Regions from separate parts of the Homo sapiens genome. Here regions 1, 2 and 4 are each linked to region 3. Evidence: promoter capture Hi-C in 16 types of primary human blood cells and fetal thymus (Javierre and others, 2016). All regions are on one chromosome and are shown on one strand. Each heading gives the region's core, a stretch centred on a gene start or on the middle of the fragment in contact. The rest is flanking DNA. Distances are from core to core; before and after follow the strand shown.

Region 1 (4,260 bases), core at 1,663-4,162, 160 kb before region 3:
TTTATCTTCTATCTTCTGGACCTGCCTTTGCTTCAACAAGGCTTGTGTGTGGTTCGTGGAGTCCTGGCTGCTGGTGGCTTGCACTGTCCCTTCCTCTTGAGCACTGTCCATACCATCTTGGTTGTTGGAACCGACCCTGGAGGAAGCCCAAGTTCATTGAAAAGGTGGAAGGCCAGTTTGGTCCCAAACTATTACTATTTCCTTAGGGTAGGGGAGCAGGGGTAGGATCAGAGAAGCCAGGCTCATTCTCCAGAACTTACCGTACCAGCTGGTTTGCTGCCTCCTGCGGTGTGCTCTGGGCTGTGATCAGGGACCCAGTGGCTCCCAGGCTAGATAATCTCTTTGAATTTTCTGGGCCCCTGTTCTGGAGGGTCCCCATGTCCACAAAGGGTCCAGGACTCTCTCCCACGGACACCATGGCTGGGGCTTCCTTCTGCTGCTGGGGAGGGCAGATTAGAACCTCCGGATCGGAGTGGGAGTCAGAGATGCCGAAGCGGCTGAGCCACTCGATGATGTCTTCCTTGCCCGCAGCATCCCGCACCAGGCTCAGCAGCAGCTCCTGGACCGCTGGGGGCAGCTGCAGTAGGTCCCCTGCATGCTGGTCACCACGGATCCAGACCAGGGCCCCAAAGGCCCGGGTCACCTCAGCCTCCCAGATCCCCCGGGGGGTCAGCAGAGGGGCAGGGCCCCAGCGCAGTCGCCCCACCAGCTCCTCCAGCCAGTTCTGTGTCATGATGAAAGACTCAGTCAGCCCGCCCACCATCAGGGAGCCAGGGGGGCCAGGCACCAGGTAGGCAAGGGTGCTCCAGCAGAGGCAGTCCAGGAAGAGGCCTTGGGCCCCAAGGAAGGCACAGTGCAGGATCGGTGGGTAGCGAACCTCTTTCCACAGCTCTGGGCTGCACAGGCCCTTCAGGTATTCCTGGGCACAATGGGGAGAACACAATGAAGTCAGCCCGTTGGGGGCCTGCCCCTGGATCTGCCCTCGCCACCCAAAAGGCCAGCCCCTCACTAACCATGTGGCCCCACCACTACCACCCCCCATCCACCATGAGCCAAATGACTCCCCCATGGCCAGCCACTCTCTCCCTGGTCCTGCACCCTCACACACCCATTTCTTTCCAGGGAACACCAACAGAACAGGGAAGCCTGGGAGAGAGGAGGGAAAGAACCCAGGTTGCAGCTCCAACTCGACCTCAACTGATTAGGTTAATTGTGGGGCATCTATCACCTTCTCAGCACCGCAGTCTCTTCACCAAGAAAAAGAAAGGTTAAACTGGATGCTCCTGAGGTCTAGTCCCAGTCTGGCATTCCTGAATTGTGTGACAGCTGGGGAGAAAGTGGCTGCACACTACTGGGCACCCTCCATAAGCTAGGAACTATGCAACCTGTGGCAAGTTATTAATCACACAACACGCCTGCCCCCGTGCCTGCAGTTCCTCCTCTGTAAAATGGGAACAGTAATAGTTCCTGCCTCATTGGGCCACTCTGAAGCTTCAGTGAATTAATACGCAGAAAGTACTGAGGATGACACCTGGCACAGCCTGTTCCCATTTTGCAGGCTGAGAAGAGCTATGCAGCTTGCCCAAGGGCACACAGCTAGAGGCTCTGATACTAGAAATTTTTCCACCTCCTCTGGCAGACCACAGTGACTACAGGGTAATCATGTGAGACTCGAGCTTCATCCCCCTCCAGAATGCCTCTAGCACAACCTGTACCCCTAATCATAGTAACTCTGTTGCCCAGAGGCAACAGAGCAGGAGATAAGCCACTGGGCCAGTGTCCAGGGGAACCCCTGCACCCGCACATACACACAATAGCTAAAGAGAAGGAAGAACTCTGGCTTTCTGGGCAGACCAAGTCCTAGAGTTCACAGAGCTCACAGGGCACACACTTGCCATCTTTAGCAGTGGCTGGGGTGGGCGAGGTTGGGGTTTCTCCACTCTGGCTGAGTTCCATCTGTGCGGTCCCATGAGCTCTCGCTCCAATCAGCCACCCCATGTGGACTTCATATGCCCCCATGCCCCTCCACATCCCCTTTCTTTGATAGTCATCCCTCTCATCCCTCTTCCTGCTTTCCCCTGGCAGTCCCATACTCCATTTTGGATCTCCAGCAGCGATCCTGAAGACCACCCAGGTGCCTCTGCTCAGTCCCCGGGCCATCTTTCCCGGCTCAGGCCTACGTGTCCCTCTTCCACCTGGCCGAGGCCACAGACCTGCAACTTCTTCCTCAGAGCCTGAAATACATGTCTAACCCCTTTTCAATCAGTTCAAAACCAGCTCAAAACCTGATGGACATCCCAAGCCAACCCCTCCTACCCCAACCTCATCTGGTCCCACTGCCTAGCAAGGTTAAATCTGAGCAGGTGTGGGCTGTCTCAGACCTTAACAAATATTCCCCCACCCCAGGCACCCCCATTTCAATGACCGGAAAACAACATGAAAAATGGAGAGATGTGCTGGGGAAGAAGATTATGGGTGGCTTCTTTCTCTTTCTGCAGAGAGCTTAGAATATTTATGGTTCCATCAACTGTCCAATATTTTATTTTATTTTATTTTATTTTATTTTATTTTATTTTATTTTATTTTTTGAGGCAGAGTCTCACTCTGTCACCCAGGCTGGAGTACAGTGGCACAGCTAGAGGCTCTGATACCAGAATTTTTCCACTGGAGTGATCTCAGCTCACGGCAGCCTCCGCCTCCTAGGTTCAAGAAATTCTCCTGCCTTAGCCTCCCCAGTAGCTGGGATTACAGATGTGCACCACCATGCCCGGCTAATTTTTGTATTTTTAGTAGAGATGGGGTTTTGCCGTGTTGGTCAGGCTGGTCTCGAACTCTTGACCTCACGCGATCCACCCGCCTCAGACTCCTAAAGTGCTGGGATTACAGGTATGAGCCACCGTGCCCGGCCCGATATTTTAAAATTAAGAAATATATAGGAACTGTGATAATTTTTAAAATAATAAATATGAACTAATATTTAGTGAGAGCTTATTATGTGTCAGGCACTTTGCACACATTATCTTATTTATTCCTCTCTCTGCCCTTTAAGGAAATACTATTATCCCCATTTTAGATGAGCAAGGAAGGCCATATGTCCAAGATCACACAGTTAGTAGGCTGGGATACTCAGGCACTCTAGCTCCACAGTCGGGGGTCTTCACCATGATGCCGTCTATACTGTAGAGGGAGAGAAGATAAGGAAACAACAGGCATTTACAGCCTGAAAATACCTGAACAGCTTTCCTGCCTAAAGCCAACCCAGACCTTCTTCCTCCAAGAGGAGAAAAAGTAGAGAAGAAGAGGCAGGAACAACTAACAACTAGGTAGAAAGATGATACAGAAGAATAGAAAAGGACACAGAAAAAGAGCACTGTATTTGTAAGAATATATTGTCCAATACCCACAGGTCGTTAGTCAACTTGTAAGTTAAATAAAAGCATTTATATGACATATTTTAATATTATTCTGTACTTGTCAAGGTGCTTTATTACTTAACACCTAACTTAGGGTTCTCCTTTCTCATAAGTCAGTTATCATTCATTGTCTACTTTCCAGAACCACCCCAATTTACACTGCAGGATACTCAAAAGGCTCAGAAAACAACAACAAGAAACTCTGGAATTGGAAGTGAAGGGGAACATGAAAAACCAGGTTCTTTGAGGAGCAGTTAGATCTGGGAGCCCAACCACTCCCAACACACATACACACACACACACACATTCACACACATTCACACACATTCACACACACACATTCTCTCACACACACACACACACACACACACACACACACAGGCTTGGCAAGTAGCTTCCCGCTCACTGGAGGGCTGTTCTCCAGGGAGTACAAAACAAGGTCTTAGGAGTCGAGGTTGATCAGCATAATCGAAGGTGTGAGCACCACACAAAAAAACATGGAGGGAGTGAGGAGGGCCAAAGAATGATGTATACAATGCAAGCTAAACGCAGAGAAACTCATTCTTCCCACTCAGAGATTTGCTTGGCAGCCAGACCCTGACCCTCCAGGCCAGGGAAGCAGGCATACATTCTGGAAAACCTGGCCAGCCCAAGAGCAGAGACTTAAAGATCACAAAACGGGGTCCCTAACCAACAGCACCTGCAAATCTCTGTACAATCAAGCTCAAAACCAACAAGTCTTGCCCACAGCCTCCACTCCCAATCAGCTTTTTGTCCTTCACTCTTTATCATGCAAGGATTATCAGGCTTGTGAGGAAAACTTCTAATGTGAAACACAGAGGACAAA
Region 2 (4,293 bases), core at 575-3,074, 130 kb after region 3:
TGGCTGGGTCAAATGGTATTTCTAGTTCTAGATCCCTGAGGAATCGCCACACTGACTTCCACAATGGTTGAACTAGTTTACAGTCCCACCAACAGTGTAAAAGTGTTCCTATTTCTCCACATCCTCTCCAGCACCTGTTGTTTCCTGACTTTTTAATGATTGCCATTCTAACTGGTGTGAGATGATATCTCATAGTGGTTTTGATTTGCATTTCTCTGATGGCCAGTGATGATGAGCATTTCTTCATGTGTTTTTTGGCTGCATAAATGTCTGCTTTTGAGAAGTGTCTGTTCATGTCCTTCGCCCACTTTTTGATGGGGTTGTTTGTTTTTTTCTTGTAAATTTGTTTGAGTTCATTGTAGATTCTGGATATTAGCCCTTTGTCAGATGAGTAGGTTGCGAAAATTTTCTCCCATGTTGTAGGTTGCCTGTTCACTCTGATGGTAGTTTCTTTTGCTGTGCAGAAGCTCTTTAGTTTAATTAGATCCCATTTGTCATCCTCCCTAACTCATTTTATGAGGCCAGCATCATTCTGATACCAAAGCCGGGCAGAGACACAACCAAAAAAGAGAATTTTAGACCAATATCCTTGATGAACATTGATGCAAAAATCCTCAATAAAATACTGGCAAACCGAATCCAGCAGCACATCAAAAAGCTTATCGACCATGATCAAGTGGGCTTCATCCCTGGGATGCAAGGCTGGTTCAATATACGCAAATCAATAAATGTAATCCAGCATATAAACAGAGCCAAAGACAAAAACCACATGATTATCTCAATAGATGCAGAAAAAGCCTTTGACAAAATTCAACAACCCTTCATGCTAAAAACTCTCAATAAATTAGGTATTGATGGGACGTATTTCAAAATAATAAGAGCTATCTATGACAAACCCACAGCCAATATCATACTGAATGGGCAAAAACTGGAAGCATTCCCTTTGAAAACTGGCACAAGACAGGGATGCCCTCTCTCACCGCTCCTATTCAACATAGTGTTGGAAGTTCTGGCCAGGGCAATCAGGCAGGAGAAGGAAATAAAGGGTATTCAATTAGGAAAAGAGGAAGTCAAATTGTCCCTGTTTGCAGACGACATGATTGTTTATCTAGAAAACCCCATCGTCTCAGCCCAAAATCTCCTTAAGCTGATAAGCAACTTCAGCAAAGTCTCAGGACGGAATCATTTTTTAAAAAAATTGGCCGGGCGCGGTGGCTCACGCCTGTAATCCCAGCACTTTGGGAGGCCAAGGCGGGTGGATCACCTGAGGTCAGGAGTTCGAGACCAGCCTGGCCAACATGGTGAAACCCCGTCACTAAAAAAAAAAAAGCCGAGTGTGGTGGCATGCGCTTGTAATCCCAGCCACTCGAGAGGCTGAGGCAAGAGAATCGCTTGAACCCGGGAGGTGGAGGTTGCATTGAGCCGAGATCACGCCACTGCACTCCAGCCTGGGCTACAAAAGCGAAACTCCGTCACACACACACAAAAAACAATCAACCAACCAAACAAAAAACACCTATGCCTCTTCCGGTAGTTGATCTGCTGAAGAATCCTCCTCTAACAGCATTTAGTGCTTAACGCACAAGTGAGCTGGGCACGGTGGCTTACGACTGTAATTCCAGCACTGTGGGAGGCCGAGGAGGAGGATCATTTGTGGCCAGGAGTTCAAGGCCAGCCTGGGCAACATAGTGAGACCCAGTCTACAAAAAGAAAAAAAAAATAGCCGGCCATCGTGGCGCGTGCCTATGGTCCCAACTTACTTGGGAAGGATGAAGGAGGGAATCTTGAGCCTATGAGGTGGAGGCTGCAGTGAGCCATGATTGCTCCACTGTACTCCAGCCTGGGGATAGAGCTAAAGACTGTCTCTAAAAGAAAATCAACAAATGGCTCACTATTGTTCATTGTTTCAAATACAAACTTCCAAACCTGGATGTCTATTTTTAGTAACCTCATTTTTTGATATTTCTGCTAAGCAAATATGCCAATAAATAGCTTGTTTATTTTTACCTCTGCACCTTCCCAGGAGAATTTCTTATTAGAGGGAAGCTGTCTACAAAACTCCCTTCCTCACAGCCTTGCACTTTGACCCAGTAATACTGCTTCCAGAAATCTAGGCCGGACATGCATAAAAATTTATGTTCTACATAGCAATTATTGATAAAAGTGGAACACTGGAAACAAAGATCTAAATATCTTGCAATATGGGATTGTTAAATAAATTATGGTCCATGTAGTATAGACACAGAAATACCAGGTAGCTATTAAAATGGTGTTGTAGTCTTCAATTTTTTTTTAAGGTACCTATTCCTGGTATAGGTTTGTTGTAGCCTTCTATTTTTATACCATAGGAAATTGTGCAAACTACATTGTCAAGTTAAAAAAATAAAGATAATCATTTCTTCTGGTGACATGTAATAGATGCAAAAACGATGTGGTTTCATTTTTTCATTAGAAAGTATAATAGGCGTGGTAGCTCACACCTGTAATCCCAGTACTTTGAGAGGCTGAGGCGGGCAGCTCGCTTGACCACAGGAATTTGAGATCAGCCTGGGCAATGTGACGAAACCCCATCTCTACGAAAAATACAAAAACAAAATTGAGCTGGGCCTGTAGTCTTGGCTACCCAGGATGCTGAGGTGGAAGGATCACCTGAGTCTGGTCAAGGCTGCAGTGAGCCATGATTGCGCCACTGCACTTCATCCAGCCTGGGCGAGAATGAGACCCCGTCTCAAAGAAAAAAAAAAAAAGTATAATAATACCCAGCTCATTACATCATTAAACAAAGTGGGGAGGGCTTGCATGAACTGGTGACAAAGGTGTAGCTTCTACAAAGGATTATGATGAATACAGCTATAGCACCTGAGGTCCAGAAAAACGAACAAAAAACTTCTGTTAAACTTATCTCCTTAACAATTCATTTTTTGATTCTCTTTTCTCTTCTTCTTACAAATTAGTTTAAACCTGAATAAAATCTTTTAATTCAAGCTTTTGTAATATGGAACTTGTACATTATTGAGTAAAACATTTAAAAGTCATGGTAAATGTTAAAATAACTGAGGTTTTATGACAAAATTGAGTCCTTCACATCACATGGGAAAGAATATAAGATTAATCACTGGATTCATTGATTAATTTTTTTGCGTATAAAAGATTTTTTTTTTTTTTTTTTGAGATGGAGTCTTGCTCTGTCACCCAGGCTGGAGTGCAGTGGACCGATCTCGGCTCACTGCAAGCTCCGCCTCCCGGGTTCATGCTATTCTCCTGCCTCAGCCTCCCGAGTACCTGGGACTACAGGCGCCCGCCACCATGCCCGGCTAATTTTTTGTATTTTTCTTAGTAGAGACGGGGTTTCACCATGTTAGCCAGGATGGTCTCGATCTCCTGACCTCATGATCTGACCACCTAGGCCTCCCAAAGTGCTGGGATTACAGGTGTGAGCCACCACGCCTGGCAGCATATAAAAGATTTTTAAGCCTATGAACTTGATTATCTCACTATGACCTGTAATGTTTTTCAAAATGTGTAAGAGCATTTATATCTTAGGGTATACAGTGTGTCTATTGAAATAAATAAAATGGCATATCTTTAAAAATAATTATGGTGAAGTCATTTTGATAGACTAAATTTTGCCTATGCTGTCTTGATTTTGAAATTTGGTACGTTGCGTGGTTACAGTTTGTGAAGCACTTTTCATTTGGGTAACCTCTACTCTCTCCAGTTGCACTTAAAGTCACTTAAAGCCACAGAGAGGTTTTTCTACCTTCAGCACCCATTTTAGGACAATTTCTGGTAATTGCTAAGTAAATGTCAGCTAGTTGACTTCCTGCCTGACCTGTCTTGGCCTGTTTCCTGCTCATTAGCATCTCCACTAGAGGGCAGGCTGGGCTGCTGAGGAGAGAAGGAAAGGAGTGTTTTCATTCTCTAGCTAACCCTGTCCTCCTCTCCTCTACTGCAGCTCCCAGCTTGGTGACCACACAGAGCTCCTGGGACAGTTCCGTGTTTGGAGTGACTGATGCTCATACATGTGTTTGAACATTGCCTTATAGTATTCTCTGTGTCGATGGAAATGGAGAGTGTGCTAATAATTTACCTAGGGACTTAAAATGTGTTGACTAGAAAGCCACTAAGTAACTATGGGATGTTCTAATACTCTCATGTCTTGTGTCTGTAAGAATCAGATTTTTCTGTGTGTAGGGTAGGAGCTATAGATGTAATATAAGTAAATACCCTTTAGTGGCCCGGGGTAGTGGCTCACACCTGTAATCCCAGCACTTTGAGAGGCTGAGGCAGGTG
Region 3 (4,336 bases), core at 1,837-4,336:
GTAGAGACGGGGGTCTCGCCATTTTGCCCAGGTTGGTCTCAAACTCCTGGGCTCAAGCAATCCACCTGCCTCGGACTCCCAAGAAGTCAGCTACACAGAGATAGCAGCTGAAAATGAGTAATTCAGCTGGGCACGGTGGCTCACGCCTGTAATCCTAGCACTTTGGGAGGCCAAGGCAGGTGGATCGCTTGAGGTCAGGAGTTCGAGACCAGCCTGGGCAACATGGCAAAACCCCATCTCTACTAAAACAAAAATTAGCCGGGCGTGGTGGTGTACGACCTGTAGTACCACCTACTTGGGAGGCTGAGGCACCAGAATCGCTTGAACTTGGGAGACACAGGTTGCAGTGAGCTGATATTGAGCCACTGCATTCCAGCCTGAGCAACAAAGCAAGACATTGTCTCAAAAAACAAAAAAAACCCACTGTAACAGAAATGATGAATGTCTGTGATGGGCTCATCAATAGACTGGACATGGCCAAAGAACATGGTGCGCTTGAAGAAATGTCAACAGAAATTTCCAAAGCTGAAATGCAATGAGAAAAAAAAATGAAAAAGAACAGAATATCCAAGAATTGTAGGACAATTATAGAAGCTGTAGCATACACATAATCAGAATGGCAGAGAAGAAAATAAAGGAACATAAGAAATGTGGCAATAATGACTGAGAATTTCCCCCAAATTAATGACAGACACAAAACACAGATCCAGGAAGCTCAGAGAGCAGCAAGCAGGATAAATACAAAAAACAAAAAATGAAGATAGACTGGGCTGGGCAACACAGAGAGACACCCCTTCTCTACAAAACATATTTTTCTTTTTTTTTTTTTTTGTAGAGTCAGGGTCTCACTGTATTGCCCAGGCTGGTCTCAAACTCCTGGCCTCAAGTGATCCTCCCACTTCAGCCTCCCAAAGTTCTGGGATTACAGGCATGAGCCACCACACCCACCAAAAAAGATTTTTTAAAAAATTAGCCAGGGACTGCGTGCAGTGGCTCACGCCTGCGATCCCAACACTTTCGGAAGCCGAGGTGGGAAGATCGCTTGAGTCCAGGAATTCGAGACCAGCCTGGGCAACAAAGACTTGTCTCTACAAAAAATAGAAAAAAATGAGCCAGGCATGGTGGTGCATGCCTGTAGCCCCAGTTACTTTGGAGGCTGAGGCAGGAGGATCACTTAAGCCCAGGAGGCAGAGGTTGCAGTGAGCCAAGATCACTGCACTCCACCCTGAGCAACAGAGCGAGACTGTCTCCCCACCTCAAAAAAAAAAAAAGAGCCGAGCGCGGTGGCTCACGCCTTGTAATCCCAGCACTTTGGGAGGCCGAGGCGAGCGGATCACGAGGTCAGGAGATCCAGACCACGGTGAAACCCCGTCTCTACTAAAAATACAAAAAAGCCGGGCGCGGTGGTGGGCGCCTGTAGTCCCAGCTACTCGGGAGGCTGAGGCAGGAGAATGGCGTGAACCCAGGAGGCGGAGCTTGCAGTGAGCTGAGATCGCGCCACTGCACTTCAGCCTGGGCGACAGAGCGAGACTCCGTCTCAAAAAAAAAAAAAAGTAAAACAACAGAAGTTCATATCTACATAAGAAAGAAAGAACATTAGAGAAGGAATAAATAAAGGGAAAAAGGAAGATAACTAGAATTTCACACATATCCAATTTGGGGTACTTTGGGACTGGGTGTTTCTTGGGCAGTCGAATGTGCGGATCAGCTGAGACTGATCCGGGGCGGAGACAAGGATGTGTGAACCATTATCTCTGGGAATGGAAGACATGGGCTAAAGACGGAGCAGTTTCACTAAATCCTTGTAAGGTGGTCAAGGCAGGCAACTAATCCAGCCAACAATTAAGGAGTGTAAGCTGTGTGTTAGGTTCTGTGCTTGCTGATGGAAATGAGAGGCACCAGGAAGCCTGTGGAAGAGACAGTCAAGGAGAGCAGTCAATTACATTAGGGGGCTGACAAGTTCAGTGCACAACAGAATCCTAAAACAAGAAACTAATTTGTGTGTGTGTGTGAGACCCCGTCTCACTCTATCACTCAGGCTGGAGTGCAGTCACTGAAGCCTCAACCTCCCTGGCTCAAACAATCCTCCCAACTCAGCCTCCTGAGTAGCTGGGACTACAGGCGTGCCACTACGCCCGGCTAGTTTTTTTGATTTTCAGTAGAGACAGGTTATCGCCATGTGATCCAGTCTGGTCTGGAACTCCTGGGCTCAAGCGGATCGATCCTCCCCTCTCGGCCTCTCAGAGTGCTGGGATTACAGGTGTGAGTCACCGTGCCCCCAGCCTGTATTCTATTTCTTCTTCTTCCTCTTTTTTTTTTTTTTTTTTTCTTTGAGAGAGATTCTCCCTCTGTCGCCCAGGCTGGAATGCAGAGGCAAGATCGCGGCTCACTGCCACCTCCCGTCTACTGGGTTCAAGCGATTCTCCTGCCTCGGCCTCCCGAGTAGCTGGGATTACAGGCGCCTGCCACCACGCCCAGCTAATTTTTGTACTTTTAGCAGAGAAGGGGTTTCACCATGTCGCCCAGGCTTGTCTGGAGCTCCTGGGCTCAAGTGACCCTCCTGCCTCGGCCTCTCAAAGCGCTGGGATTAGACACAAGCCACCACGCCCAGCCTGTATTTTATTTTTTAAGGGCGGGCGCCCTCTTCTGTTTTATAAAAGGAACAGTCGAATTCCTACTGGAAGCGACGCGCGCAGAGGGGAAGGCTTTGTAGACGCCGGCTCGGGTCTGGAATTTAAAGAACTAAATTTCGATGGGTGAAGACAGTGGGAAAGGGCGGTGGCATGATCCTCGTTTTACAGACTAGGAAGTCGAGCCTCACGGGAGTGACGGGGCTTCTCCGCAGGCTCCGCGAAGAAAGCAAGGCTGGGAGGACCCAGACGAACGGCCACAACAGCCTCAGCGGCCACGACAGCCTCAGCCGCCAACTCATGTCAGCCGGCAGAGAGTGCAGGAAGCGGGCAGCTACAGCTCCGCTGGGGCGTGGCCTTCTGACGCACCGTCACGGTTCCCTCTGTGGCCGCCCATTGGCTCCCTCTTACCGCCCTTTTCCGGGGCAAGGGAAGCTAGTAGCGGAGCCGGAAGTGAGGCACCCTCGGGCTCGAGACAGCGGCGACGTTTAAAGCTGAGCGACCCAGTGCCACTGGAGACGGTCAGCTTCTCCACTCAGGCTCCTCCAGCCCGAGCCAGAAGACCCCCTCCCCCAGAATTCTGGGGGCCGATGGAAGGGAGCCGAGTCAGATCGCGAGGTACCCAGAGCCGACAGACCGGAGCGACAGGGAGTTGCCAGAAGCCCCGCCCCTAGGAGTGATCGGAAAGCCTCACCCATCCGGGTGAGGAACCCGGAGGGACCGCCTCCGGGCGGAGCCCGCCGACCATGGCTACGCCCCTGGTGGCGGGTCCCGCAGCTCTACGCTTCGCCGCCGCGGCTAGCTGGCAGGTTGTGCGCGGACGCTGCGTGGAACATTTTCCGCGAGTACTGGAGTTTCTGCGATCTCTGCGCGCTGTTGCCCCTGGCTTGGTTCGCTACCGGCACCACGAACGCCTTTGTATGGGCCTAAAGGCCAAGGTATTGGAGCAAGTAGGACCTGGAAGGGGAAAGAAAGAAAGGGGCGGGATGCGAGCACCTGACAAGGGCCCACAGCTTGGGGATGAGACTAGTTGGAAAAGGTCAGCTTGCCCCGAAGTGGGGATTCTGAATTCAGTACCGTACAGGTGGTGGTGGAGCTGATCCTGCAGGGCCGGCCTTGGGCCCAAGTCCTGAAAGCCCTGAATCACCACTTTCCAGAATCTGGACCTATAGTGCGGGATCCCAAGGCTGTGAGTAATCCCCGGAACAAGCCCTGACCCCAGTTACACTTGGTGCAGCAAAGTTGCTCCTCCTGTCTACTGGATGTTGGTGCTAACTTCTCTGTCTTCTGTATCCTCAACAGACAAAGCAGGATCTGAGGAAGATTTTGGAGGCACAGGAAACTTTTTACCAGCAGGTGAAGCAGCTGTCAGAGGCTCCTGTGGATTTGGCCTCGAAGCTGCAGGTGAGACTGGTTTGAAGGCTATTATGTGGCTATTTTCTCTAACCCATTTTTTTTTTTTTTTGAGGAATCTTGCTCTGTCGCCCAGGCTGGAGTGCAGTGGCACAATCTCGGCTCACTGCAACCTCTGCCTCCCGGGTTCAAGCGATTCTCCTGCCTCAGCCTCCCGAGTAGCTGGGATTACAAATGCCCAGCTAATTTTTGTATTTTAGTAGAGATGGGGTTTCACCATGTTGGCCAGGCTGGTCTCGAACTCCTGACCTCAAGTGATCCGCCCACCTCGGCCTCCCAAATGGCCAGGATTA
Region 4 (4,746 bases), core at 165-2,664, 200 kb after region 3:
CCTGTAGTCCCAGGTACTTGGCAGGCTGAGGCACAAGAATCGCTTGAACCTGGGAGGCGGGGGTTGCAGTGAGCTAGATCGCAGCACTGCACTCCAGCCTCGATGACACAGCGAGGAAAAAAAAAAAAAGAGGGACAAAGCTTAACAATAAAAAACTAGCTCACTGAAGAACATTTTGGCACTTTGGTCTTTATGTGTATGAAACACTGGTAAATAAATCATAGTGTTTTCACATCCTGATACTTTAGTGTTGAGAAATGTTTGATGACATCTGATATAGTTGGTATGTTTGTCCCCTCTAAGTCCCATGTTGAAATGTGATCACCAGTGTTCAAGGTGGAACCTGGTGTGAGGTGTTTGGGTCATGGGGTGGATCCCTTATGAATGGCTTGGTGCTCTCCTGGTGGCAATTAGTGAGCTCTCACTCTATTAGTTCATGCCAGAGCTAGTTGTTTAAAAGCCTGGTATCTCACTTCCTCTCTTGCCATGTAACGCGCCTGCTCCCTTTTGCCTTCTGCTATGATTGTAAGCTTCCTGAGGCCTCATCAGAAGCAGATACTGGCACCATGCTTCTTCTGCAGTCTGCAGAAGTGTAAACCAAAACAACCCTCTTTTCTTTTCTTTTTTTTTTTTTTTTGAGACGGAGTCTCGCTCTGTCACCCAGGCTGGAGTGCAGTGGCGCAATCTCGGCTCACTGCAAGCTCCGCCTCCCGGGTTCACACCATTCTCCTGCCTCAGCCTCCCAAGTAGCTGAGACTACAGGTGCCCGCCACCACACCCGGCTGATTTTTTGTATTTTTAGTAGAGACGGGCTTTCACCATGTTAGCCAAGATGGTCTCGATCTCCTGACCTCGTGATCTGCCCGCCTCGACCTCCCAAAGTGTTGGGATTACAGGCGTTAGCCACCGCGCCCGGCCACAACCCTCTTTTTCTTTATAAATTGCCCAGCTCAGGTATTCCTTTATAGCAACGCAAAACAGACTAATACAACATCAGAGTAAAAAGCAAAACCATGGGAGATCATAAAAAATTAGCATTTCCAAATCGTGGGACTATTAACCTTAGTATACAAAGACAAATATTTTAATTAAAGCTTTGTAATTAAAGAATGTGTGTGAAATATATTACGAATGTAATGTAATTATATACTTACACATAAAACCCAATATTGTACCACTTGAATATAGACATCTGGATCTCAGATTTTCTTGACATTGCAGTTAGGAAGAAAATAATATAGGTTTTTATTTTTACTTTTTTAAAGGATGTATATTATAAAGTGGCAACTGGTTATTTCACCAGAATTAGTATTTTACTTAACTAGCAGCTTTTAATATTTCCCAGCTAATGAAAAATGATTCCTTTTTGGCAGCTGAAAGGGGGACAGTTGGGTGTGTAAGTTTAAGTGTCATAGTTGTTGGCATATTAGCTGCCACGTCTCTGTTGGAAATCAACCAGGTAGCAGAGCATGCCGGGAAGAAGGCTGGGGAGGGGAGCAGACGGTGGATAGTGAAGGGCAGATGGAAGCAGACAGAAGTAGGAGCAGCAGAAACGAATGAGAAGGGCAGGGACAGAGGAAGCTGCCCCCACCCGCCCTTTACCAGGTGTGCTCCAGGTGTGTGGCATGTGGCAAAGACTCCTCACATTTACACTGCACTTGATAAACACATTCTAAAAGCAGACGGAGTTTGTTATCGATAGTGATAGGATATCAATAACTCCATGAAGCTTCATAGCCTAGGGAGAGGGGTAAGGTCTGGACCAGGGCTGCAGTAAGTAAGGGAGGTGCATTTATTCACGTTGATAAAAACTTCCTTCTGGGCGGGGCGTGGTGGCTCACGCCGGGAATCATGGCACTTTGGGAGGTCACGGTGGGAGGACCACTTGAACTGAGCAGTTTGAGAGAAGCCTGGGCAACATAGGGAGACCTTATCCCTATATTTAAAAAAACAACAACAATGACAACAACAACAACAACAAATCTTCCTTCTTAGGAACTATCGTCAAAATAACTTCTATTTCTTAAAACATCTTTTTTGAAAACTACCCTAAGATCTGCTGCTAACCATTTAAGGTTGGCTTCTTTCTTTTTTTAGATGGAGTCTTCCTCTGTCACCCAGGCTGGAGTTCAGTGGCATGATCCCAGCTCACTGCAGCCTTGACCTACTGGGTTCAAGCCATCCTCCTGCCTCAGCCCCCCAAGTAGCTGAGAATACAGGTGCGTGCCATCACACCTGGGCAATTTTTGTACTTTTTGTAGAGACAGGGTCTTGCCATGTTGCCCAGGCTGGTCTGGAACTCCTGAGCTAAAGCCATCCGCCTGCCTCGGCCTCTCAAAGTGTTACAGGTGTGAGCCACCAGGAAGTTGGCCTTATTTCTTTTGCAGTGTTTTCTTCCCACCTCCTATTCTTCTAAGGCTGTCTCTGACCCTATGCTCTTTTCTTTACATTTTCCCATTTGGGAGCTCCTTCATTCTCGTGATTTCAAATCTCACCCCAAAATCTATTTCCAGACCCCTCCTCTTCCTTTCACACTGAGTTCCACCCACATTTCTCCAAGTGCTTACTGTCCAGTTCTTCTTGAATAAGTTACCATTATTTCAAAGTCAATCTGGCCACACTTACCTGAATGGAAAAACTGGCTTAAATAGAGCTGTAGAAAGTTACCCTGGAGGGGCCTTTGAGATCATCTATTCCAATGTCCTTAAGGTGGAGATGATGAAACAGGTTCAGGGAATTTTCTCAAGATCATATAGTTCAGTAGTAACACACTGGGGCTAGCTAAGAACAGGAGGCCTGCTTATTCCGTGTTGGGGAAAGTGATTTGTTCAGGGCATAAAGCTAGTTAGTGGTGGAAGAACTGAGGTCAGTCTCCCACTTTGTAGCACAGAGCTAATTCGTAAGAGCCCTCTGAAAGTGAGCTGGGGTCATTAGGAAACCGGCTGCCCAGGAGAGCCATGATGGGAGAAGATACCAGCCTGAATTTAAAGCAATTCCATATTTGGTTATGATGTCATTTTCCCTGTCTCTGTCTCTCTCTTTTGACCTGGAGGCATGAAAGATTCAAGGCAGAAAGGGAAATTTAAACTGAGAAAGCCAAGAAAGGCAACATCTCACCTCCTTAATAAGTTATAAGTAGGTAGTGAGGCATGTGCTAGAGTAATGAATGGCCAAGCAGAATCTGCCAACAAGGGTTTTCAGTACAAAGCCACCCTGAAACCAGACTTTGCATTTGCCTGGAACTGGCAATTTTGATGCCTTGGGCAAGTAGCAGTACATGGGCCCTTGGTCAATTTTGTGCTCCGGATTTGGCCCACGGAGGGGTGTTATTAACAATGTACACCATCTGCTAGCTTCCCATTTTAACTAATTATTCTTGTTAACTAGGTGCTAACCTTCAACACAGTTGAAGAAATGCCTGGGCTGTCAACGTGTAAATCTAACAAAATTTAAAGTCAAGTACTCTTTTAAAACCAGTATGAATACTTTCTTGCACCCTTTAAATTTTGGTATCCTGGCACAAAGCCAAGTCACCTGCCTTGGCTCTGTGTAAGTCTCACCAATGTACTTGTTACTAGGGAGGTGCAGAATAAGTTAATAAGTGATGTGTGCTGTGCTCAGTGCACGTGTGTTTGGGCTGGGAGAAGACAGTGGATTGCTCCAGAATCACCTGGAGACATTTTCTACTCTGCTGCATACCCCATGCCCCTCTACTTCCAGGTCTGTCAGCACAGAGATGGGAGGAGGCTGGGTTTTGAATGAACAGAGACAGCAAACCATAAAAGATGAATGAGGCTGGGTGTGGTGGCTCACACCTATAATCCTAGCACTTTGGTACGGCCAGTAGGGAGGACCGCTTGAGGCCAGGAGTTCAAAACCAGCCTGGGCAATAAAGCCCCAACTCTACAACAAATTTAAAAGATGAACTGGCGTGGTGGTGCATGCCTATAATCTTAGCCACTTGGGAGGCTGACGGGGGAGGACTGCTTGAGCTCAAGAGTTGGAGGTTACAGTGAGCTATGATCATGCCACTGCACTCCAGCCTGGGCAACAGAGTGAGGCCCTGTCTCTGGGGGGAAAAGAAAAAGATGTCTTCTAAGTGTTCTAAATTGTGTGATCACTACACTAAAGTGGTTAGGAGCTGTTTGTTCTGTGTTCTGATAGTTATACATTTTTAAGAAAAAATATAATCAAGCAGATAGGCAGCTACTCTGGTTTCCACTTACAACACCAGTGAGAAGCTTCGTGGTGTGCAGATGAGGAGGCCACTGGGTAGTATCCATTCTCAGGGCAGTGGCTTTTCTCATTGCAGGGTAACATGTGACAACTGGCAGAAGACATTTCAAATTGCTGACAAGTATTCTATCATTCTCCTCTCTGACAATGGTCATACAAACTACCTGAGAGTCATTTTTGACTTCTCTATTTCCCACTTTTTGACATGGGGTTGGAAAATCTTGGTTCGTTTCCACTGAATGTCTCTTGGGCACATCTATTCCAGTCCCACCGCCACTGCTCTAAACCTGGACGACAGCAACAGCTTCCTCACTGATGCCCTGGATTTGGTGTCTCCTCTGTATATCCTTCCTACCAGAGCCAGATTAGCTTTCCTAATAACCATCTTTCTCTTGCTCAAAACCTCACATGGCTTCTTATTTGCTACAAGAGTGTGTAAACATATCCTTTTAAGAGGCTATATCCTTTTAAGGTCCTTAACGTATCCTTTTAAGAAGCTATGGCCGGGCG

Evidence for each region. Contacts are between HindIII fragments. The CHiCAGO score rates a contact against its expected background, and 5 or more counts as called.
Region 1: a contact is called between a fragment that was not itself captured here and the fragment with the promoter of TINF2 in region 3, in 1 of 17 cell types (naive CD4 T cells). The highest score is 5.3, in naive CD4 T cells.
Region 2: a fragment that was not itself captured here is called in contact with the fragment with the promoter of TINF2 in region 3 in 13 of 17 cell types (activated CD4 T cells, naive B cells, naive CD8 T cells and 10 more); the score reaches 12.2 in activated CD4 T cells.
Region 4: a fragment that was not itself captured here is called in contact with the fragment with the promoter of TINF2 in region 3 in 3 of 17 cell types (activated CD4 T cells, total B cells and M0 macrophages); the score reaches 5.7 in activated CD4 T cells.

The regions. Positions count from the first base shown.
Region 1 is chr14:24,404,528-24,408,787 of GRCh38, reverse strand. NYNRIN (NYN domain and retroviral integrase containing) reads right to left here. Exons shown (of 9, transcript NM_025081.3): 3 at 261-919; 4 at 1-136. Among named protein-coding and RNA genes, the nearest start is that of NYNRIN, 7.7 kb to the right of the region's middle. The HindIII fragment of the contact is 2,837 bases long and covers 1,494-4,260 here.
Region 2 is chr14:24,108,574-24,112,866 of GRCh38, reverse strand. The region is part of intron 1 of NRL (neural retina leucine zipper); the gene reads left to right. Among named protein-coding and RNA genes, the nearest start is that of DCAF11, 4.1 kb to the left of the region's middle. RefSeq lists an enhancer at 3,793-4,087. The HindIII fragment of the contact is 2,327 bases long and covers 661-2,987 here.
Region 3 is chr14:24,241,373-24,245,708 of GRCh38, reverse strand. TINF2 (TERF1 interacting nuclear factor 2) reads left to right here and starts at 3,086. Exons shown (of 9, transcript NM_001099274.3): 1 at 3,086-3,568; 2 at 3,715-3,819; 3 at 3,933-4,034. The coding sequence starts at 3,377. RefSeq lists a silencer at 2,152-2,446 and enhancers at 2,638-2,937, 3,108-3,367, 3,438-3,657, 4,318-4,336. The HindIII fragment of the contact is 13,864 bases long and covers 1-4,336 here.
Region 4 is chr14:24,039,680-24,044,425 of GRCh38, reverse strand. It overlaps the pseudogene DHRS4L1. Among named protein-coding and RNA genes, the nearest start is that of CARMIL3, 10 kb to the left of the region's middle. The HindIII fragment of the contact is 635 bases long and covers 1,097-1,731 here.